Linked DNA regions of Homo sapiens: all the other regions are linked to region 3. Evidence: promoter capture Hi-C in 16 types of primary human blood cells and fetal thymus (Javierre and others, 2016). All regions are on one chromosome and are shown on one strand. Each heading gives the region's core, a stretch centred on a gene start or on the middle of the fragment in contact. The rest is flanking DNA. Distances are from core to core; before and after follow the strand shown. Region 1 has its middle 4.0 kb from the start of C1QTNF6. Region 2 has its middle 13 kb from the start of EIF3D. Region 3 holds the start of PVALB (parvalbumin).

What was found. Contacts are between HindIII fragments. The CHiCAGO score rates a contact against its expected background, and 5 or more counts as called.
Region 1: a fragment that was not itself captured here is called in contact with the fragment with the promoter of PVALB in region 3 in 1 of 17 cell types (monocytes); the score reaches 5.1 in monocytes.
Region 2: a contact is called between a fragment that was not itself captured here and the fragment with the promoter of PVALB in region 3, in 6 of 17 cell types (endothelial precursors, M1 macrophages, M2 macrophages and 3 more). The highest score is 9.6, in endothelial precursors.

The regions. Positions count from the first base shown.
Region 1 is chr22:37,190,786-37,193,682 of GRCh38, forward strand. It overlaps a transcript of C1QTNF6 not described here. Among named protein-coding and RNA genes, the nearest start is that of C1QTNF6, 4.0 kb to the left of the region's middle. The HindIII fragment of the contact is 3,971 bases long and covers 1-2,897 here.
Region 2 is chr22:36,540,268-36,543,102 of GRCh38, forward strand. No RefSeq gene overlaps it. Among named protein-coding and RNA genes, the nearest start is that of EIF3D, 13 kb to the left of the region's middle. The HindIII fragment of the contact is 753 bases long and covers 957-1,709 here.
Region 3 is chr22:36,815,634-36,818,333 of GRCh38, forward strand. It overlaps PVALB (parvalbumin), which reads right to left and starts at 1,402. Exons shown (of 4, transcript NM_001315532.2): 1 at 1,312-1,402. The coding sequence starts at 1,372. The HindIII fragment of the contact is 33,107 bases long and covers 1-2,700 here.

The DNA of each region.
Region 1 (2,897 bases), core at 320-2,819, 380 kb after region 3:
TTCTGCAGAAATCAGGTAAAGAGAAAAAAACATATTCCAAATTTTGTTTTTGGACAAAACTTTGTTTTATAATCCTTACCGGAGCGTACTTTACTCAATTGTTAAAAGCTGTAAATAGCTCAAGAAGGGGGGGTTTCTTGACTCTGAAAAACAAAACAGAAAGATCAACAACATTTTAAGCAAAAAGTCATAAAAGATTATTTCAGTCTTTTATTAGTTCAGTCTATGCAATTAATTCCTGTTTTGCTTGATATATATGTGTTAGTTTTCCAAGAGTCTTGGATGATGTTTTCTTTTTCTCTGCATTTAAGAGTACTCATCAGAGTCCTATAGCTGATTATAAACCACCTTTTGAAGAGAATAAAAGCAAGACAACAATTGTCTATGGATGACAGAAAGACTTAGAGCAGTCATGGTTAAAGAATTAATATCATTGACTAGGAAATGTGGATACCTCTGTGGCATATAATAAATTAACATCATAACAATTATAATTATTATTGATAATGTCCATTAGTATTGATAATGTTCATATCAGAATTATAGGAGTTTCCCATAATTTTGGAACACATACCAATAACATATTTATATAAACACAGCCCAAAGAAAGCCAAACACAATTTCATATTTGACAATGCTTCCTGTATTATTTTAATGTACCAAATAAGCCAAATATGTCATTTTTGGACTTTAGGGGACCTAATATCTAAAGGACTAATCAGGTTAGAAAAAGGCATAACTTAGAATTTGATTTTGGAAAGTTTGTCAAATATCAAAAATTTAAAACATTTGATACTACAAAATAGCATCCCAGGTCACCATAAGTCATTTATTTGGCCAAAATGATAACTCAAAGATGTTTTTAAGGGCAAAAACCTTTACTCACCGATAAAGGGAAGACTTAGCTTTCCAAAAAAAACTGTCTCTTTTCGTTCCTTTCTTTTTTCTATAGCTTATTCAAAAGGCAAACAAAAATCTTTAATTATTTTTCAATATTACATGAAAAACTTGTTCAAGAGAGAAAGCCAAATTTTACCTTTGCATTTGTGTACTATTAATGTCAAACCCAATTCATAATAAAGCCTTATAGACAACTCTATCCAATTTTAATGTTTGACCATGAGGTAAGAGTCTCATAAACCTTTTATAGCTCTTTACAATTTTCTTGTTAAAGAGTATACCAGTGCTCTAAGAAAACCTTGTTATACTTTTATTCCATATTTAATTTATGGAAAAACTGAATAATATCCCTTTAATTTAAGCCAATAAGTTCACACAGAATTTCTTTTACAAGATTAATCTTTCACAAACCTTCCATAACTTGCTCAAACCTTCAGCTTTATCCTACCTAACTTGAAACAATCCTTTAACCCTCTAAAGTAGGGGGAAAGTCCACATTCCCATGCTTTCTTATAATCTTCTTACCAAAAGCATATTCAATTTTCCTTACACACCTTGCATATAAAACTGTTTCTCTAGTAGTCTCAATTACATATAACATATTACGATGTTAACTCTTAGCAACTTTTATTTTTTGGTGAAAAACCTGGTAAGTAAGCAGTTTTACTTATATTCCAGGTGTGGAGCCTAGGACAGCCTTATCTGCAGAAGTGCAGATAAGGTCTGACTCTTTCCAGCATAGCTGGGGGCATGGCTAACTCGACAAGTCCCCAGGCCTTATCTAGAATCTAATGGCCCCAAAGCAGGTAAGCTGGGCAATTTTCAAAAGTCAATGATGCAGTTTATGACCTTGAGGCATTTAGCAAACCTAAAATCTGACCTGCCTAATTTAGACCAAATGTCTAAAGTTTGAAGATATTTTAATGTTACTGATAATCTTTAAAACTGTCTCTATTTCCCAAAGATTATTAAAGTCATGTGAACCAAAAGGCATTAATGTTTCTATTTTTCTGACAAAATATTTGATTTAAGTACTTATTATTTTTAAGCCAATTAATCAGAGCTCTTTCATATATCAACATCACACACACAACATATATAAATACACAGACAGAAGATCCAGTAGTTGTAAGATTTTTCATTTGCCAATTTTTAAGTTTCTTAATTGGATTACTGACTTCAGGGTGGAGCCCTTCAAGAAACAGGGCCAGGAAAGCCTGCAGTTTCTAAGGCCTAATAAGCAGGCACAGCTGGAAGGCAAAACAGAACCCCAAAATTAAGGGTTTCATTTTTATATTGGATCCTGGATCCCAAAGAGAGGGAATCAGCCCATCCCCCATGGCAGTCTTATCTTTCAATGGAGGGTGGGGACACTTCCATACTTTCTAGGTGGCCAAGAGCATGCTTTTCTGATCCAAAGGTGCGAAGAGCCAAGTATCCCCACAAAACTGCCATTAGCCATCCCTAAAAGTGTATTCCCCACCTAGTTATTACATAGCAAGGCTAAAAGCTCTCTTAAAATGCAAAGTAATTTCTGATATCCCCAAAAGTCAAAACTGTCAGATAACACAATACAAAACAGAGCAGAGCCTTAGATTTTGAGAGTGGTCTATCTGCTTTCAATTCCTGGGGGTGTCCATGAGGAGAACAGAGGTTTCTCCCAAAACAGGGTCTGTAGCACCTCCTTTTTTCCTGAGAAGTCCCAGGCTATTAAAATTTATCTTAGGTCCTCTCAGGTGGGGCATCAAGAGTGGCAAGAAGACAAAATGGGGAAAAAAATTAAGTCGACTGAAAAGAAAAAATTTTTCAGAAAAATAAGAGCCAAGAAGAGAAAAAAAAGCATAAAGGCCTTTTAAATATATGTATAGCTTGGATATCCATTTTTAATTAAGCTGACTTTTAACCAAATCTTGTTACCAGACTCTAGCCGGGACAAACAGCCAATATTTCTGGCTTTTGAACTTCACTAACAGTAACCTCCCAGGTGAAACCGGTAA
Region 2 (2,835 bases), core at 83-2,582, 280 kb before region 3:
CAGAGCCAGGGCTGGCATTGTCCAGGGCACAGGTTCTTGGTTGCGCTGGCTCAAGCATCATCCCCATTCCCCGGGTAAGACTGTCCTCCCAAAACAGAGGTGGCTTCAAGCTGCTCTGTGATAAACACTTTTTTTTTTTTTTTTTTTTGAGATGGAGTCTGGCTGTGTCACCCAGGCTGGAGTGCAGTGGTGCAATCTTGGCTCACTGCAACCTCTGCCTCCCAGGTTCAAGTGATTCTTATGCCTCAGCCTCCCTAGTAGCTGGGATTACAGGTGCCTGCCACCATGCCTGGCTAATTTTTGTATTTTTAGTAGAGATGGGGTTTCACCACGTTGGTCAGGCTGGTCTCGAATTCCTGACCTCATGATCCGCCCGCCTCGGCCTCCCAAAGTGCTGGGATTACAGGCGTGAGCCACCGTGCCTGGCCGATAAATGCTTCTTAATGCTGTTGTTTATTCTGACTCCCTGCCACCAAGCAGTGCTGTGACACCGTGGATCCTCATGGAACTTGTGCTGTAGGGAAGCACGTGCTGGTTAGGCTGATGGAAGTGCTCCATTCTGCTGGTGGGGTATTTACTGTGCTCTCCAATAATAAATGGATCTTCTGCTATGCGTCAGCCTTGTAAGTTTGGTCAAAGGGAGTCTGCCACCGCCTTGTGTGCAGAAAGATCCCGGATATCCTGTGGTGGATTCACCTCATTGGGACCGGTCAGTGTGGCCAACCTCTCTTCCAGAGTGGCAACTTGCGTTTCCTTGCTTATCTTTTAAGAAGCACCATAGGAATCATCACCCCATTTTATAGACGAGAACACTGAGGCTCAGAGAGGAGGAATGTCTTGCCCCAGGTGAGCCAGCTGGTCAGGGTGCATTTGGAATGGAAACCCAGGTGTGGCTGAAACCAAAGCTGGCACTCTCCATGCACAATTCCAAAACCCACAAAGCTCTGAAAATCTAAAGCTTTTTCATGAGATTGGGGCAAGCATTTGATGGCAAACCTGATATGAATTGGATGTGAGGTTATTTATAGTCTTTATTTTGTCCCACTTAGCGTGAATATTTATACATTTTGCTGCAGAAAAATTAAAGGGTTTATGGAATATTGCTCCAGAGCTCACTGGCATGTCACCTGATATGCGGTAGATCCACTCGAAAACCTTTCAGGAATCCAAAGAATTCCAAGTTATAAAGCACATTGAGGCCGGATGTGGTGGCTTCAGACCTGTAATCCCAGCACTTTGGGAGCCCAAGGCGGGCAGCTCACCAGAAGTCAGTAGTTTGAGACCAGCCTGGGTGAAACCTCATCTCTACTAAAATACAAAAATTAGCCAGGCGTGGTGGTGGGTCCCTGTAATCCCAGCTACTGGGGGAGGCTGAGGCATGAGAATCGCTTGAACCCAGGAGGTGGAGGTTACAGTGAGCCAAAATCGGGCCACTGCACTCCAGCCTGGCCGACAGAGTGAAACTGTGTCTCAAAATAAATAAAATATAAAATAAAATACATAAATTGATAAAGCACATTGAGCCGCGAGGATTTCAGATAAGAAATTGTGGAGCTGTGCTACCTGTACCAAACTTTTCTGTCTCGGTTAGGCAGAGATCACTACCCCCATTCTGCAGATGAGGAAGACTGAGGGCAAGGAACATGGTGTCCCAGGTAGGACGGCAGCCATTTTATCATCCTGTTGGAGGCTGTGCCAGCAGGAAAGGAAGCTTTGGAGCCACCAGCCCACCCCAGCCTCCCAAGAACCTTGTTGTCTCAGCAAAATTTCAGAACTAGAAAACCTGGAAAGATTAAAGCCCCAAAGAATGCCACAAGTCCCCCAGGAAGAAAGGGAGGCTTTGCTGTGCGTTCCAGTGGTCGACATTCTAAATCATTTTTTATTTCAGCTGCATGTACACTCACCCATCACAGGACCAGTTCTCAGAATAGAGAGGTACCTGTTGAATCATCCACCCTACTTCCTGCCTCGTGTGGGCATGTCTCCAAGTGCTGAGCCATCCGCTTCGCTGCCGTGGCCTGAGATATATCAGGATTTGCAGGCCTGGCGACAGGAGACAAAATAGATTCCCATTTCCTTCAGAACCATTTAGCTAGTTTAGAGAGTGTTTGACTGTTTCAATGGGATGAGCAATAACCAGGCCTCTCCTTGGCTCCTTCTCTCTGCCCCATATGTTTTCTTCTGTTGGAAGCTGGGATTTGGGGTCTTAGGGCCAAAGATAAATACTGATTTTGGCTCGATCTGGCCGCACAGCTGTGGGCTAGTAGGTGCCCCTCTCTGAACCTCAGGCCCCCACTTTCTGCAGCACAGTGTTGTTCTCATCTCTGTTTTTTTTTTTTTTTTTTTTTTTTGAGATGGAGTCTCTCTCTGTTGCCTAGGCTGGAGTGCAGTGGTGCGATTTCAGCTCACCGCAACCTCCATCTCCTGGGTTCAAGCAATTCTCCCCACCTCAGCCTCCCGAGTAGCTGGGATTGCAGGTGCCTGCCACCAGGCCCAGCGGATTTTTGTGTTTTTTAGTAGAGACAGAGTTTCACCATGTTGGCCAGGCTGGTCTCGAACTCCTGACCTCAGGTGATCCGCCCTCCTCAGCCTCCCAAAATGCTGAGATGACAGGCATGAGCCACCGCATCCGGTCTCTCATCTCTTCATACCACATGCCTTGGTTCCCACTGCCCCGGCGGGTGCCTGGAGAGCCTTGTGGCTGGGGCTGAGTGACCGCAAGGTGATATTTAAGGTGGTCTCATGGAGCAGTCTGACATCACTGTAATGCAAGCAGACATCTGGGGAGTCAGACTGACTGAATTTGAATTCCAGCGATTTAAATTTTTACCACTG
Region 3 (2,700 bases), core at 152-2,651:
GTCCTGGGGTTAGGGGGAGGAGGGTTGACCTTCTTTCTTGGCCACAGACTTTGTTGCCAGAAAATTGACATAGAAAGGACAGGTTTCCCTCAAGGTCATACAGTGGGAGGAGGAGGGGCAAACCCGGAAGTCCTGGCTCTGCGCAGAAATCCACTTCGGAGGCAGTGGGAAGGGGGTGTTAGGAGGCTCCCGAGAAACACCCAGTTAAGTTTCTTCCCACATGGGCTTGAGGTGAAGGGAGAGGGTTATCCCAGGACCCTGGGAGGGTGGCTTCCCAGAGAGGTTCTTGTGCCCAGGGGAGGGGGTGCAAAGCAGAAAGGAAATGGGGGTCCTTTTCTACCTGCAATTTTCTGTATCTTGGGGTCCTGTTTTAGAACACCTGGGGAAGGGTACAATGTTAGATCATGTATTTTGTGTGTGTGTGTGTGTGTGTGTGTGTGTAGGGAATGGCTGTTGAAGTCATGTTCTCTTCCCCTCAGCACAGGGCTAGAGACAAGGAAAGTTGCCCTGTCCACCTCCGACACTAGGCTGGGCAACCCAGTTCTAATACCCCTTCTGCCCAGCTAGGTGACCTTGGGCAAATGTCTTGTCCTCTCCAAGACAGTTCCCTGATTTCCCCATCTGGAGGACAGGGGAGGAGGAAGGCGGGCAGCTTAGCGCTGAAGTCCCGGGCAGCTGGGAGAGGTGAGACTGCCAGTTCCCCTCCCCTGCCCGCCTAAGGAGGCTGGAGGTTTGAGGCACTGAGGATGCCCCGTGCGGGCTTAGGCAGAGCTGTGCGCCGGCTCCAGAAGGTCACCTCGCCCGCAGGTCCGTTGCTGAATCTCAGTAAAGGAACTAGGACAGTCAGGGGGCCAACAAAGGCTACCGCCTGGCGGGAAAAGTCCTGTCCAGAATGAGGGTCCAGGAAAGGGGTCTCTTGGAGAGGAGGATGCCCCCTGCAGTCCCCTCTAAGTGCCTTAAAGAGGACGTCCAGAGAGCTCGTACAAGGACCCTGGAGGTCTCTCCTCCGACCCTGGTCTTCGCCCTTGGTCCCGGACCCTGAGTCCTCCCAGCCACCGGGCCTTCAGCACCCTCAAGTTTCTGTAACTTAGGCGGGGCGCCCTCTTCCCCGCCCGCTCCCCGCGCCAAGCCTCGCCCGGACAGAGTTTGGGAACTGCCAAGGACGCCCCCGCCCCGACCTCGCCGGCGCCCAGCGGGAAGTGTGGGCAGAAGCGCGCTGGGGAGGATCCGCCGGCTGCGGGGCCGGCGGAGTGCAGGGGCGCGGGCGGTGGACGAGGGGAGAGGGATGGGGAGGGGAGCGCGCTTGCTCACCGCTAAAGGCTCCCACCGCCTTCTTGATGTCCTCAGCGTTCAGCAAGTCTGTCATCGACATCCTGCAACTGTTTGAGCGGGCAGAGCAAGTGCGAAAAGATTAAAAAGTGCTTTTCTCATCATTTCTGCTCATATGACCAGCGCTGCAGTGCTGCGCGCCGGGCGCACGCCCGCCGGGCCTGGCATGGCGCCAGGGGCCCGGACTCTGAGCGCAGCGGGAGCGGCTCAGTCCAGCCGCGCCGCTGAGCAGCGCCGGCCGCCGGCAAGAAGGCGCGCGGACCTGCTACCACTCCTGCACCGCCAGGCCAGGGGTCCGCGGGATCCCAGGGGCTGCGGCCAGGGCACGAGGGAAGGGGCCACCTCTGGGATTTAGGGGGCACTGGCGTCACCAGCTGGGTCTGGAAAGTCCACCTGCCGTCAAGGACACGCAGGAGGTGCGCCGTCTCAGATCTGGGAACCTTGGCGGATGTCCTGCCGCGTGGGGGAAGATCCTGAACCTTCAGCGGCCAGCCTGCACCTCAGGACCTCCTAGGCCCTGCTCCCTTTCTCTCTCCACTCCTACCTCAGCCTCTGCTCTGGTCTGTCCTGGATGCAAATTTATGCTGCAAAATCTGAGCGCTGAGGTCCTGAAACCTGACCCACCCGACGCAGGGAGGAGGTGGCAGGGACAGGGACAGGGACAGGCAGGAGCTGCTGGGGCCCACTTCGGGTGCCCCATCCCACATCTGGCCAGGGATGCATATTCTAAAACCTGATTTGATGTTTTACTTTTATTTTTTATTTTTTTGCTGGCTTGATTTTTCGAAGAACACTTCTCAGATCTCTACTAACTACTTGCTTTCCTGGTCTCCTGGGTCCTGGCATCATGGGTCCAGACTCCCCCTACTCCTATAAACCTTTTTTGGGCAGAGTAGGGTGGGAGAGTCCGCTTGGAATTGCTATGCTCCCTCCCAGAAAGCCCCATATGTGTTTGGAAGAAGGGTAGCACCTTCAGACCACACTTTCTAGACAACCTAAGCAGGTGTAGGGGTCTGAACTTCACCTCTGGAAAAATGTCACGGTGCCTATCTGTATGCAGCCAGAGACCCGTTGTGTTCTTCCCCATGGTTCCCAAGGTTTCAAGCTGCAACCAGCTGCTTCTAGAGTGTGTGAGCGCTGGACAGGGAGTCAGGAGGCCTGGGTTCTAGATCCTGGGCTGCACTAAGTCCCAGTGTGACCTTGGGTTGTGACCTTCTCTGGGCTTCTGTCTCCTTCTGATGTGTTGATGACGTCAGTGGTCCCATGTAGTGGGACCTGGGGACTGCAACTTAAGGTATTGGCAGGTAGGCAGGGCCTTGGGCTGTGGTGGCCCTGGGTGGTGGGGACCAGGGAGAGCAGCTGTCCAGCTGC